3 separate regions of the Homo sapiens genome follow, and all the other regions are linked to region 1. The links are contacts of gene promoters, found by promoter capture Hi-C in blood cells and fetal thymus (Javierre and others, 2016). All regions are on one chromosome and are shown on one strand. Each heading gives the region's core, a stretch centred on a gene start or on the middle of the fragment in contact. The rest is flanking DNA. Distances are from core to core; before and after follow the strand shown.

Evidence for each region. The method cuts DNA at HindIII sites, captures the fragments that hold promoters and counts their contacts. A CHiCAGO score of 5 or more calls a contact.
Region 2: a contact is called between the fragment with the promoter of GALP here and the fragment with the promoter of AURKC in region 1, in 1 of 17 cell types (neutrophils). The highest score is 5.4, in neutrophils.
Region 3: a contact is called between a fragment that was not itself captured here and the fragment with the promoter of AURKC in region 1, in 1 of 17 cell types (neutrophils). The highest score is 5.0, in neutrophils.

What each region holds. Positions count from the first base shown.
Region 1 is chr19:57,229,166-57,233,046 of GRCh38, reverse strand. It overlaps AURKC (aurora kinase C), which reads right to left and starts at 2,024. Exons shown (of 7, transcript NM_001015878.2): 1 at 1,741-2,024; 2 at 1,260-1,305; 3 at 823-1,014; 4 at 367-505. The coding sequence starts at 1,798. The HindIII fragment of the contact is 17,293 bases long and covers 1-3,881 here.
Region 2 is chr19:56,174,038-56,177,984 of GRCh38, reverse strand. It overlaps GALP (galanin like peptide), which reads right to left and starts at 1,977. Exons shown (of 6, transcript NM_033106.4): 1 at 1,923-1,977; 2 at 790-915. The coding sequence starts at 876. RefSeq lists enhancers at 1,741-2,291, 2,292-2,842. The HindIII fragment of the contact is 6,092 bases long and covers 1-3,683 here.
Region 3 is chr19:58,428,861-58,432,529 of GRCh38, reverse strand. It overlaps a transcript of ZNF324B not described here. Among named protein-coding and RNA genes, the nearest start is that of ZNF132, 9.5 kb to the left of the region's middle. The HindIII fragment of the contact is 1,598 bases long and covers 841-2,438 here.

The DNA.
Region 1 (3,881 bases), core at 775-3,274:
GAACCCTCTAGAAATCTCTTTGTACCTATCTCTAAGCCAGTTCTAGCTATTTATTCAGTGAACTCCTTCAGAGCCTTTCAATATGTTTCTTTACATAAGGCAGTGGAGTTAGATTCTGTTGCTTATAACCAAAGAATCCAAACCTATACGCAGTACTTATTAATATTCTGGAGATACAATGAGGTTAATTAGGGTATCCAAGGATAAAGCTGTAGAACATACGTGCCATTATATTAAATTTACACAATAACATTCAGAAGTAAACTTCTCAGAAGGCAATGCGGACCCTCCTGACAGCCACAAACAGAGCTCCCACCAGCCCACAGTAAACTCAGAGACCCCAGAGCCTCCAGACCCGCACCTCACCGTGGCTGTGCGCTGTTCATCTAATTTCTCGCTTTTCTGCAGCTCCTTGTAGAGCTCACCCCTTGGAGCATATTCCAGAATCAGGTACACCCGGCGTGCATCATGGAAATAGTTATACAGGCGCAGGATATTGGGGTGTCTGAAGGATTAATGTTGGAAGAGTCAGATTTCTCCCTGAGGCCTATCATATGATGCCACCGTCACTGCCTGGTCACACAAGTGGCAAATTATGCTGGGACCAGAATAACAACAGCCCTATCTGGGAGCAAGTGAGGGGAGAACGGAGAACAGGAACCAGGATTCGAGTGTCTGACCCAGGGTAGGAGGTAGTGTAAATGGAATGAACTGCAGAGAAGTCTTCAAGGTACAAGTGCAGGGTTTACTTGGGGTTAGTATTTGGGGAAAATGCTGGGCTCAGACGTCAAAGATGAAAGAGGAAGCAGAGACTGTCCTTACTGTAGATGAGCCTGGATCTCAATTTCCCGGCGCAGCTGGTGCTCCAGTCCTTCCTTCTCTATCTGCGACTTGAAGAGAACCTTCAGGGCCACAATGAAATGGCTTTCCTTGAGCCGAGCCAGGTACACATTCCCAAATTTCCCCTTGCCCAGGGGACGCCCGATTTCAAAGTCATCGACTGTGAGGCGCCGCCTGACAGGAGAGGAAGAAAAAAGCCTCAGCTTGGGAGGTAGGGTAGGCGGAGGGAAAGTCAGGGATGCCAATGCTCCCCTTCCTCTTTCATTGTATCCTTCCTCTGCCGCTTTCCCTTCTCACACAGACCCAGCCCTATCAGTAGTTCTCGTTCCCAGGAGCCAGCACCCCACACACCCAGTCTGTTCTTCATCCCCACGTCCCACCTTCCTTCCTTTTCCAGATACCAATCCCAAGGGACTCACATGGCTGGGCTGCTGGGCTGCTGGGCTGTTTGGTTTGCTGTAGCCACTGAAAGAGAGGAGGAGGAGGGAGATAGGAAGGGAGAGGGGAGGGAAGGAGAAGGGGAGAGAAAGAGAGGAGAGGAGAACAGTAGAGAAGGGAATAGGGAGCGAGAGGTGAGGGGAAGAAGGGGAGGAGAGAAAGAGAGGGAAGGGGAAGGCAGGGAGAGGGGGAGGGAGAGGTAAGGGGAAGAAGAAAGAGTAAGGTAAGGTAGGGAGGGGAGGAGGAGGTGAAGAAGAGGCAGAGAGAAAGGAAGGGGAGGAGAGAGTAGGGGAGGGAGAGGTGAAAGAAAGAATTGGAGGGAAGGGAGGGAGTGGGGAGAAAAGAAGAGCGTTGGGGAGGAGGAGAGGGAGGGGAGATGTCAACACATGTGTCTTCTGTGCACCCGACCCCTGGCCCAGTCCCCAGCCTTCCCTGCGTCCTTTCTCTGGCGCTGGCTCTCACACTCTTCGCCTGCAGGTTGAGCTTTGCCCAGCTGCACCACAGCTCTGGGGGAGCTCATGGGGAGAAGAGGTGAGGGCGCGGACGCCTTCCTGAACCCTCTGGATGGCTGTTCCCGTTCACAGGGTCCTGAAAGGGGTGGGGGGTCACTTTCTGGCCGGGGCGCTTCCAATCCTGCTCGTCCTGCAGCCTCACTGATGTCTCACTGCTACACAGGCTTCGGGATCCGCGGCGTCGTGAGCAGCCGTGGCTGCGCGGCCTTCTTTTATACCCGGCACCAACCGCTCAGAGAGGTACTTCCTGGCTGGCTCCTATTGGCTGAAATTCCTGACGCCATCGGAAGTGCGCCCAATAGAAAGGACAGAAACGGGAGCCTCAGTCCAGGGTTCCCGGGTTGGGGCGGAACTGGAGTGCTGCGGTCCGGGCTGGGCACTGAAAGCGAGGGCCAGGGGTGAGGCCCGAGAAGGAAGGAGACAGAGGGTGCGGAGAGGTGGTGATGGCCGTTGTGGGAATGAACAACGCATACACCCACGGGGTGTGCATGCGTCAACTAGGAGAGAGCCGCGATGCACGTGGGAATGAACAGACGCCCACTCCTGACGTGCTGGAGCCTCGTGCAGCCCGTGACCCTAAACCACTTCGCGCCTTGTGCAGCCGGCGACCCCAAAACCACCTTGCTTCAAGGTCACGTCCGATTCAGGCCACTCTCCAGGGTCACCGCGATGGGGCTCCCTGAAGCCTGCGGCTGTGCCTGCTCACAGCCAGGACGCCACCAGTCCAGCTCACTTACCCCTCTCCTCCCACTCGCCAAATATTTGTTGGACCCTGTAATCAGTTTGTGGATTTGGCCTCAGATCGTAAAATCAGCCCCCACGTATTTGTTTAGCAAACACATAAGTTTCAAAAACATTAAAAATTGAATTCTTTTAGACAGGGAACATATCTTGCAGAAATATAATTGAAGGCCTGGCGTGATGGCTCATGCCTGTAATCCCAGCACTTTGGGAGGCCGAGGCGGGCGGATCACCTGAGGTAGGCAGTTCGAGACCAGCCTGGCCAACAGGGCGAAACCCCGTTTCTACTACAAAAATTAGCCGGGTGTGGTGGCGCATGCCTGTAATCCCACCTACTCAAAAGGCTGAGGCAAGAGAATCGCTTGAACCCTGGAGGCGGAGGTTGCAGTGAGCCAAGATCATGCCACTGCACTCCAGCCTGGGCGACAGAAGGAGAACGAGACTCTGTCTCAAAAAAAACAAAAACAAAAACAAAAAAACCCAAAAACAAAAAAGCTCGTCTCAAAATATTTGGGGAGACCTATTTGAGTAATAAAACTCTGGTCTCTCATTTAGCTCGATTGATGTGAATTAAACCCTTTATTGCAATTATCCTGTCTTGATAAGTCGACTCTATCTGGGGAGCAGGGAAAATAATGAACCCATTAGGTGGTTACAATAGGTGGATCAGGGTAATGGCGCTTAGCTCAGGCCAACCATTCCTTTCTCAGAGGCTTTCCCAAACCTGTCTGTTTGTTTGTTTATTGAGACGGAGTCTTGCTCTGTCACCCAGGCTGGAGTGCAGTGGCTCGAACTCAGCTCATGCAACCTCCGCCTCCTAGGTTCAAACATTTCTCCTGCCTCAGCCTCCTGAGTAGCTGGGATTACAGGCACCTGCCACCATGCCCGGCTAATTTTTGTATTTTTAGTAGAGACAGGGTTTCACCATGTTGGCCAGGCTGGTCTCGAACTCCTGACCTCAGGTGATCCACTCGCCTCGGCTTCCCAAAATACTGGGATCACAGGTGTGAGCCACTGCGCCCAGCTCCAAACTGTCAATTTAAAACAGCCCCCACTACAACGTCATCCTGTTCTGTTTTTCCTTAGGTCACTCATAACCATGTGAAAGTGCTGTTTTATATATGTGTATATTGTTAATTTAATGAGTATCGATTGAGTGCCTATCTTGCAACAGGCACTGCTCTAAAAAATCAGATATGTACATAGCAAAATAATTATGCATTCCTGTACTTGAGGAATTTTTTTTTTTTTTTGAGATGCAGTTTCACTCTGTCGCCCAGGCTGGAGTGCAGTGGTGCGATCTCGGCTCACTGCAACCTCTGCCTCCCAGGTTCAACCAATTCTCCTGCC
Region 2 (3,947 bases), core at 728-3,227, 1.1 Mb after region 1:
CATTGTTATGAACAACAGCCACCATGCTGTACCAGAGATCTAGTTTATTTCCCCTGTCTAACTGAAACTGTGTATCCCTGGACCAACATCTCTTAATTATTTAATCCTCTTGGCTAAATAATGAGAGCTGCCTGCCATCCGAGTTAACTGTTAACTCTCACAGTGCTGGAATTGGACAAAGAAGATCCACTCAGAGACCAGAGAGGTTAGGCAATGTGACTGAAGTCACACAGCTAGAAAGTCGCAGATCCCGGATTTCAAACTCAACCCAGCCTCTACAGCCCATGCTGTGGAGGTGTGTGATCAAAGGTTTTCAAAGTGTCGTCCCAGACTGGGTGCCGTGGCTGACACCTGTGATCCCAGTACTTTGGGAGGCCAAGGCGGGTGGATCACTTGAAGCCAGGAGGTCAGGAGTTCAAGACCAGCCTAGCCAACATGGTGAAACCCCATTTCTTCTTTTTTTTTTTTTTTTTTGAGATGGAGTCTCGCTCTGTCACCCAGGCTGGAGTGCAGTGGCACAATCTCGGCTCGCTGCAACCTCCGCCTGCCAGGTTCAAGCGATTCTCCTGCCTCAGCCTCCTGAGTAGCTGGGACTACAGGCACGTGCCACCATGCCCGGCTAATTTTTGTGTTTTTAGTAGAGACACGCAATATTTCTTCTCATATTTTCAGGATTTGAGCTTCTTCCCCAGGACCCTTGACACAAGCCAGAAGCATTTTTAAAAACTCTTCCCAGAGGGCAGGGATTTGGGGACACTGTTGTTTCCGAGGAACTTAGGGAGGCGTTACCCGGTGGGCAGGTGCGGATGCTGGAGTCTCTGCCAGGCTCAGCAAGAGGACGAGGAGGAGGACCAGGGGGACGGAGGGAGGAGCCATCGAAGGCAGGACGACAGGTGCCTACAGCTGCGGAACACGCTGCAAGGAGAGAGCGGCCAGTCATTTTCCGAAGCGGGGGCCAGGTGCATTTCCGATAAGGACAGAGGAATTTATTTTTTAGCTTTATGGAGGCATCATCGAGATACAAAAATGGCGCACATTTAATGTACACATCTTGAGGAGTTTGGACGTGTGCAAGCAATTAAGCCTCTCCTTCCCCCATCATCGGATCAGGCCGACCTGGTCCCCCAGCGCCCATGCCTTCTGCCCCACTGCCTCCACCACTCCATCTTCAAACCTTTCCGTCCCCTTACCTGCCCCTCACCTTTTCCCTGCCACCAATGCTGGGGTTTCTCCTGTTATCCCCATCCCTTCAAGCCCCCCATCACTCTCCCAGGAGCCCCTCACTCCCTCCACCCCTCTGCCCTCCTGGCCTAGGCTCTCACCCCAGTGCAGCTTGGATCCACCCCTCTGCCCTCCTGGCCTAGGCTCTCACCCCGGTGCAGCTGGCATCCACCCCTCTGCCCTCCTGGCCTAGGCTCTCACCCCGCTGCAGCTGGCATCCGCCCCTCTGCCCTCCTGGCCTAGGCTCTCACCCCCGTGCAGCTGGGATCCGCCCCTCTGCCCTCCTGGCCTAGGCTCTCACCCCGCTGCAGCTGGCATCCGCCCCTCTGCCCTCCTGGCCTAGGCTCTCACCCCGGTGCAGCTGGGATCCGCCCCTCTGCCCTCCTGGCCTAGGCTCTCACCCCGGTGCAGCTGGGATCCGCCCCTCTGCCCTCCTGGCCTAGGCTCTCACCCCGGTGCAGCTGGGATCCGCCCCTCTGCCCTCCTGGCCTAGGCTCTCACCCCGCTGCAGCTGGCATCCGCCCCTGTGCCCTCCTGGCCTAGGCTCTCACCCCGCTGCAGCTGGCATCCGCCCCTCTGCCCTCCTGGCCTAGGCTCTCACCCCGCTGCAGCTGGCAGCCGACCCTGTGCCCTCCTGGCCTAGGCTCTCACCCCGGTGCAGCTGGGATCCGCCCCTCTGCCCTCCTGGCCTAGGCTCTCACCCCGCTGCAGCTGGCAGCTCTCCGCAGCTCTCTCTGGCTCCTCGCTCCAGCGCCTGGACTCTTTCACGCCCCCTGAGCTTTTATGCCTTCTGAGGAGACAATAGAAGGGAGGGGGGAAAGGGAGGGGATTAGAAGAAGGGAGAGGGAGTGAAGAGGATGGAGGTGGGGGAACAGTCATCCACTCCAGGGGCTTTCAAACGCTGGTCTGTGAGGTCAAAACACACACTTCATCGCGGGAAATGCTGCTGTGCCTTGGTTTCCCCTGGTAGACCCTGCCCTTCCCCCTCCTTCTGTGCCCCTTTATCTTCCAGCTGTCCTGTTCCAGACTTTGCAGCTATTCGAGGGCTCCCTCCCTCCCTCTTATCTGCGTCTGGGCCTTGACCTGTGTCTTCCTTGGTTGTCTCCACCTGCCACTGGTGTCTCCGTAGCCCTGTCCCCTCTGCCCCCATCAATCCCTCCAAGCCTCCGCAGCTCCCTCACTGAGTTGCATTTCTTCTGTCTTGCACGGTAGACCCTGTTTATTTGTTTACTTGTGAGCTGTCTATCTCCCCGCCCCCCACCTACCACCCTGGCTAAAGGAGACCCCATGAGGGGTGTCAACTGTGTCTTGTTCATGGCTGCGTCCCTAGGCCGGAAGCTCTCAACCAGGAGTGACTCTGCCCCGATGCTGCCCCAGCCTCACCCCAGGACATGTGACCAAGTCTGGAGACAGTTTTGTTTGTTCGTTTTTTTTGTTTTTGTTTTGAGACGGAGTCTCGCACTGTCGCCCAGGCTGGAGTGCAGTGCTGTGATCTCGGCTCACTACAAGCTGTGCCTCCCGGGTTCACGCCATTCTCCTGCCTCAGCCTCCCGAGTAGCTGGGACGACAGGCGCCCGCCACCACGCCCGGCTAATTTTTTGTATTTTTAGTAGAGACAGACGGAGTTTTACTATGTTGGCCAGGCTAGTCTTGAACTCCTGACCTCGTGATCTTCCCGCCTCAGCCTCTCAAAGTGCTGGGATTACAGGCGTGAGCCACCGCGCCCGGCTGGAGACATCTTTACTTGGGACTTGGGAGGGACTCCCGGCATCTCGTGGGTGGAAGCCAGGGACGCGGCTCAGCCTCCCACAGTGCTCAGGAAAGGCCTCCCCGATGGGAAGGACCCAGCCCCGAAAGTCAATAGCTCCAAAGATGAGAAACCTCACAGCAGCCCCTAAAACAGTGCCCGGAGCTCACTCAATACTTGTTGGGTGAACGAATAAGGAGTGTGTCGTTGCTGCGTCTCTCTCCTGTCATGTGTGTTGATCTATCTGTCTCTGCAGCACGCTCTCTCTTTGCCCTGACGTCACCTGCTTTCCAGAGGAAAGAACCTTGGAAGAGGTTTTACTCTTGCTGTTGCCCTTTGCTGTCTAAGGGACAGAGGGGACGCCCTGGTCCTGGCTGGGTTCTGTCTCCTCCTCTCCACCGTGGAGGACACATTGCCTCCAAGGTCCTTCCAGCATTCTGTCGGTTTGTGGCTGGCACTTGTATCTCTGTCCTGTCTTTACACATCCCCATCAGCCCTTACCCCATCCTTTCTCATCCCAAGGGGAAAGGGAGACCCCAGGAGAGGGATGGAGTGAGAAGACGACGTGGGGGATTACAGACACCCTGGTGGGCTCCTGAGCCCCCTCCGCTGTTTCTCCAAGTCCCTCACTTCTCATCCAGAGGATGACAACAACGAGGAGGAGGAGGAGGAGGAGGAGGAGGAGTGGGCAGGGGAGGAGGAGGAGGGGGAAGCTTTTATAGAAGACAAACTGACAAGAAGGTGTGAATGGCTTTGCTGGGAAGGAGAAAGGAGGAGGGAGTGACGCCCACTGCACGGGAGACAGGACTGAGGAGGCGACGCTGAGAGCTTGAAGCTGGGTTACCTGGAGCCCAATGGAGGGTCAGAGAAACAGTGGGAAGTCCTTGCCTCACTGCCCATTAGCTAGTTTGTGAAAAGTAAACGGGGTAGGTCCAAAGCTTGCTCTATCTCTCTTACACACACACACACACACACACAC
Region 3 (3,669 bases), core at 390-2,889, 1.2 Mb before region 1:
AAAGACCTAGAGGGGTCCATGGAGGACTCTATGTGCATAGAGAAACACTGGATGTGAGGTAATAACCAGGGATTTGGGTAGACTGGTGAACTAGGGCACATGCCATCATGGACAAAGGAATAGCCATAGTTCCCCATCAACTGGGACTGTGCAGGGTGAGGGTGTGCAGAACAACTCCAGAGCTACAGACCTTTGTATTTGCCATGTTAAAGTTTTTGCCACAGTTAAAGCAGATAAATGCAATGTCATGTACATTCACTTCACCTCTCTCAAACTGTATCTTGGCACCCATCACTCCCCAGGTAGGAACTGGGAGCTGAGAGAAGTGATAGCCTGACGTCCAGGAAAGTGGTTTTTGCAGTCTGGCCAGGGTTTCTGGTCACTAACACACACTTCATGCCTTCACAGTCTTGCTGGCCAACAGAGTGGGCACAGGCAGATGGGGGCATTTAACACAGTTGACAGAGCTGGTATTTTAGAAGGAGCTAGAGATCCAGAACCTTGTAGAATATGGTGTTTGGCACCTTTTTTTTTTGATATGGAGTCTTGCTCTGTCGCCCAAGCTGGAGTGCAGTGGCGCGATTTTGGCTCACGGCAAGCTCCACCTCCTAAATGGCTCACGCCATTCTCCTGCCTCAGCCTCCCGAGTAGCTGGAACTACAGTTGCCCGCCACCACACCCAGCTAATTTTTTTGTATTTTTAGTAGAGACGGGTTTTCACCATGTTAGCCAGGATGGTCTCGATCTCCTGACCTCCTGATCTGCCTGCCTTGGACTCCCAAAGTGCTGGGATTACATGCATGAGCCACCGCACCTGGCCGGCACCTATTTTAAAAAGCTTATTTACCATGTAATTTCAGCATCATCACATGTGAGCTGCTGCTGTTTCTTTGACCTCCCCCATACAAGGAAGTACTCATGAGAGCATTGGCTGGGATGTGAACAGGAGTCCCCATAAAGGAGAGGCCTGGCCAGGTGCAGTGGTGCACACCTATAGTCCTAGCTGCTTGAGAGGCTGAGGCAGGAGGATCTCTTGAGCCCAGGAGGTTGAGTCCATCCAGGGCAACATAGCAAGGCCCCATCTCTAGAAAAGAAGGGTGGCCTGGGCTCACATCACTGAACAGCAGTTTCAGTAGCCACTGCTGCTTCCACATCTGTCCTAGATCCCTCTCTGTTCTCCCTGCCTATGTGAATGTCACCTAACAGGCTCAGTAGTGGGATATGTGACAGGACCAGTACTCCATGACTGGTCGTTCCTCACCCTGACCATGGCACCCTTGCCCTGCCAAAGATTGTACTCCTGGCTGAACGTTAGGCAGTGTACTCCAGGTAGAAACCCCACACAAGGGAGTGGATCAAACCTTCACCAACAGTAGACCATTTATGGTGAAGACCACCTTTTCAGATGTGACATGGCTCACAGTAAGAGCACTTTTCAGTTCATGCACAGCAAAATTCATAAGTGAGAGGACTCAAGGGCCAGGCATTTGTGAAGGCTTTCCAGGGTAACTACCCCCTTCCAGCACTGGAGTACCAGAATAATGAGAAGCTCAAAAGAGAATGTGGAAAGGCCTTCCTTTCTCCATCACCAGAGTACTCATGGCACAGGGAAGCCATGAAGAAGAGCTGAGTGAGAAGATGCTGCCACACAGCTCTAACATCAGATAACACCGGGCAGGCCATGATAGGGAGAAGCCCTTCAAGAGCAGTGGCTATGGGAAGACATGAAGACTTTTGCCCTCTTCAACCACCTAAGAACCCACACTGAAGAGAGATCTTTAAATACTTGGTATGAAGAAAGACCCTCAAGAAGAAATCGATTCTTATCTATAACCAAAAAATTCACAGTAGAGAAAACCCCTGCATCTAAGGAATGTGGGATGGTCTTCAGTCACCTCTCCTATGTGAGAAAGCTATATAAAGTACCTATGGGAAAAAGGCATTACAAATGCAGTGAAAATGGGAAAGCCTTCAGCTATAGACACCCCCTTTTAAGAAAAATCACCAGAGAATTCACAAGAGAGTTATGGGCAACAAATGTGGGAAAGCCACAGCTCCCAGAATCTTAGGCGGCACTGTATTACTGCTATTGCAGAAGCCATCTGTATTAGTTACCTATTGCTGTGTAACAAATTACTCAAAACCTAGTGGCTTAAAACAATAGTCACTATTTCACAGTCTCTATAGGTCAGGAACTTTGGTGCAGCTAGCTGACTCCTCTTTAGGGTTTCTCACAAGGCTAACATCAAGATGTCAGCTGGGGGTGTATCATCTGAAGGCTTGACTAGGGAAGGCTCTGCTTCCAAGCAAACTCATGTAATTGGCAGCATTCAGTTTTTTGTGGGCTGCTGGACTGAGGACCCGTCTGTTGGTCTGAGACCTCCTCCAGTTCTCTGCCACATGGGCCTCTCCAAAATGGCAGCTTGTCAATCAAAGCTTGCAAGCTGATCATGCAGTGGAGAATACCAACAAGTCAGTCATTTGTAACCTAATAACAGAAGTGAGATCCCATCATCTTTGCTAAATTTAGTTAGAAGCAAGTCACTTGGTCCAGCCCACAGTCAAGGGGAGAGCATTACACAAGAGCATGAATACCAGAGGGCAGAGATCATTGGAAGCCATGTCCAAAGCTGCCTGCCATACTGTCTCATCTCTGCCACCTGGCAAGATCTCATGATATGTATCAGTCTCCCTCACTGTGCTAAGGGAAAGCAGACTATACTCCCTTTTCCATTCTCTAGAGAGAATTACATAGGCTTTGAGTACCTTCATTTTCTTTCCCACTGATGGCTTTAGATTTTGGTATGACAATTCTTGCTAAGATCTGAGCTGGTGTCTTCTGGAGCTTTCCAGAAAAGGTTTCTTGGCCGGGCACAGTGGCTCATGCCTATAATCCCAGCACTTTGGGAAGCTGAGGCAGGCAGATCATGAGGTCAGGAGATCGAGACCATCCTGGCTAACATGGTGAAAACCCACCTCTACTAAAAATACAAAAAATTAGCCAGGTGTGGTGGCGGGTGCCTGTAGTCCCAGCTACTTAGGAGGCTGAGGCAGGAGAATGGTGTGAACCTGGGAGGCAGGGTGTGCAGTGAGCCGAGATCGTGCCACTGCACTCCAGCCTGGGCGACAGTGTGAGACTCCATCTAAAATAGAAGAAAAGGTTTCTCTTCATGGACATTGTTTGCATCTACATGTGACACTTAGGAATGATCTGTTTAGTCTCAATCACTCACTCCTGGATCTGCCTGTCTCTCTCTGAGATAACAAAGGCCTTAATGTTTAGCCACCTGCATCAGAGTTGGTGAGGTGGTTTGAAACAATTCATCCTAATATAAAAAGAACAGCTTTTGTAAGGGGGCACTGAGTGTCTCAAACAGCCGCATGGGCAGGAAGAGTGCTCAGTCCAGTTTTGGTTGAATTTGTCTTGTTGCCCTAAGGCCTCCTATGAAAGACTGACAGGCTTGGACTGAATCTTGTGATCTGGACACCAAGGGTCACCTGTGGGCCCAGAGCTAGCTCTGAAGAATGGGGTAGTTTCTTTGAGAACCTCCACAGCAAAAGTTTGGTCCTCTGTTCCCAATGCATGTCCCACTTTACCAGCTACATCCCCCAGTACCTGCCCATGGCTCATGACTCATGAAATATAAAACTCAGTAGGCAGGCATAACT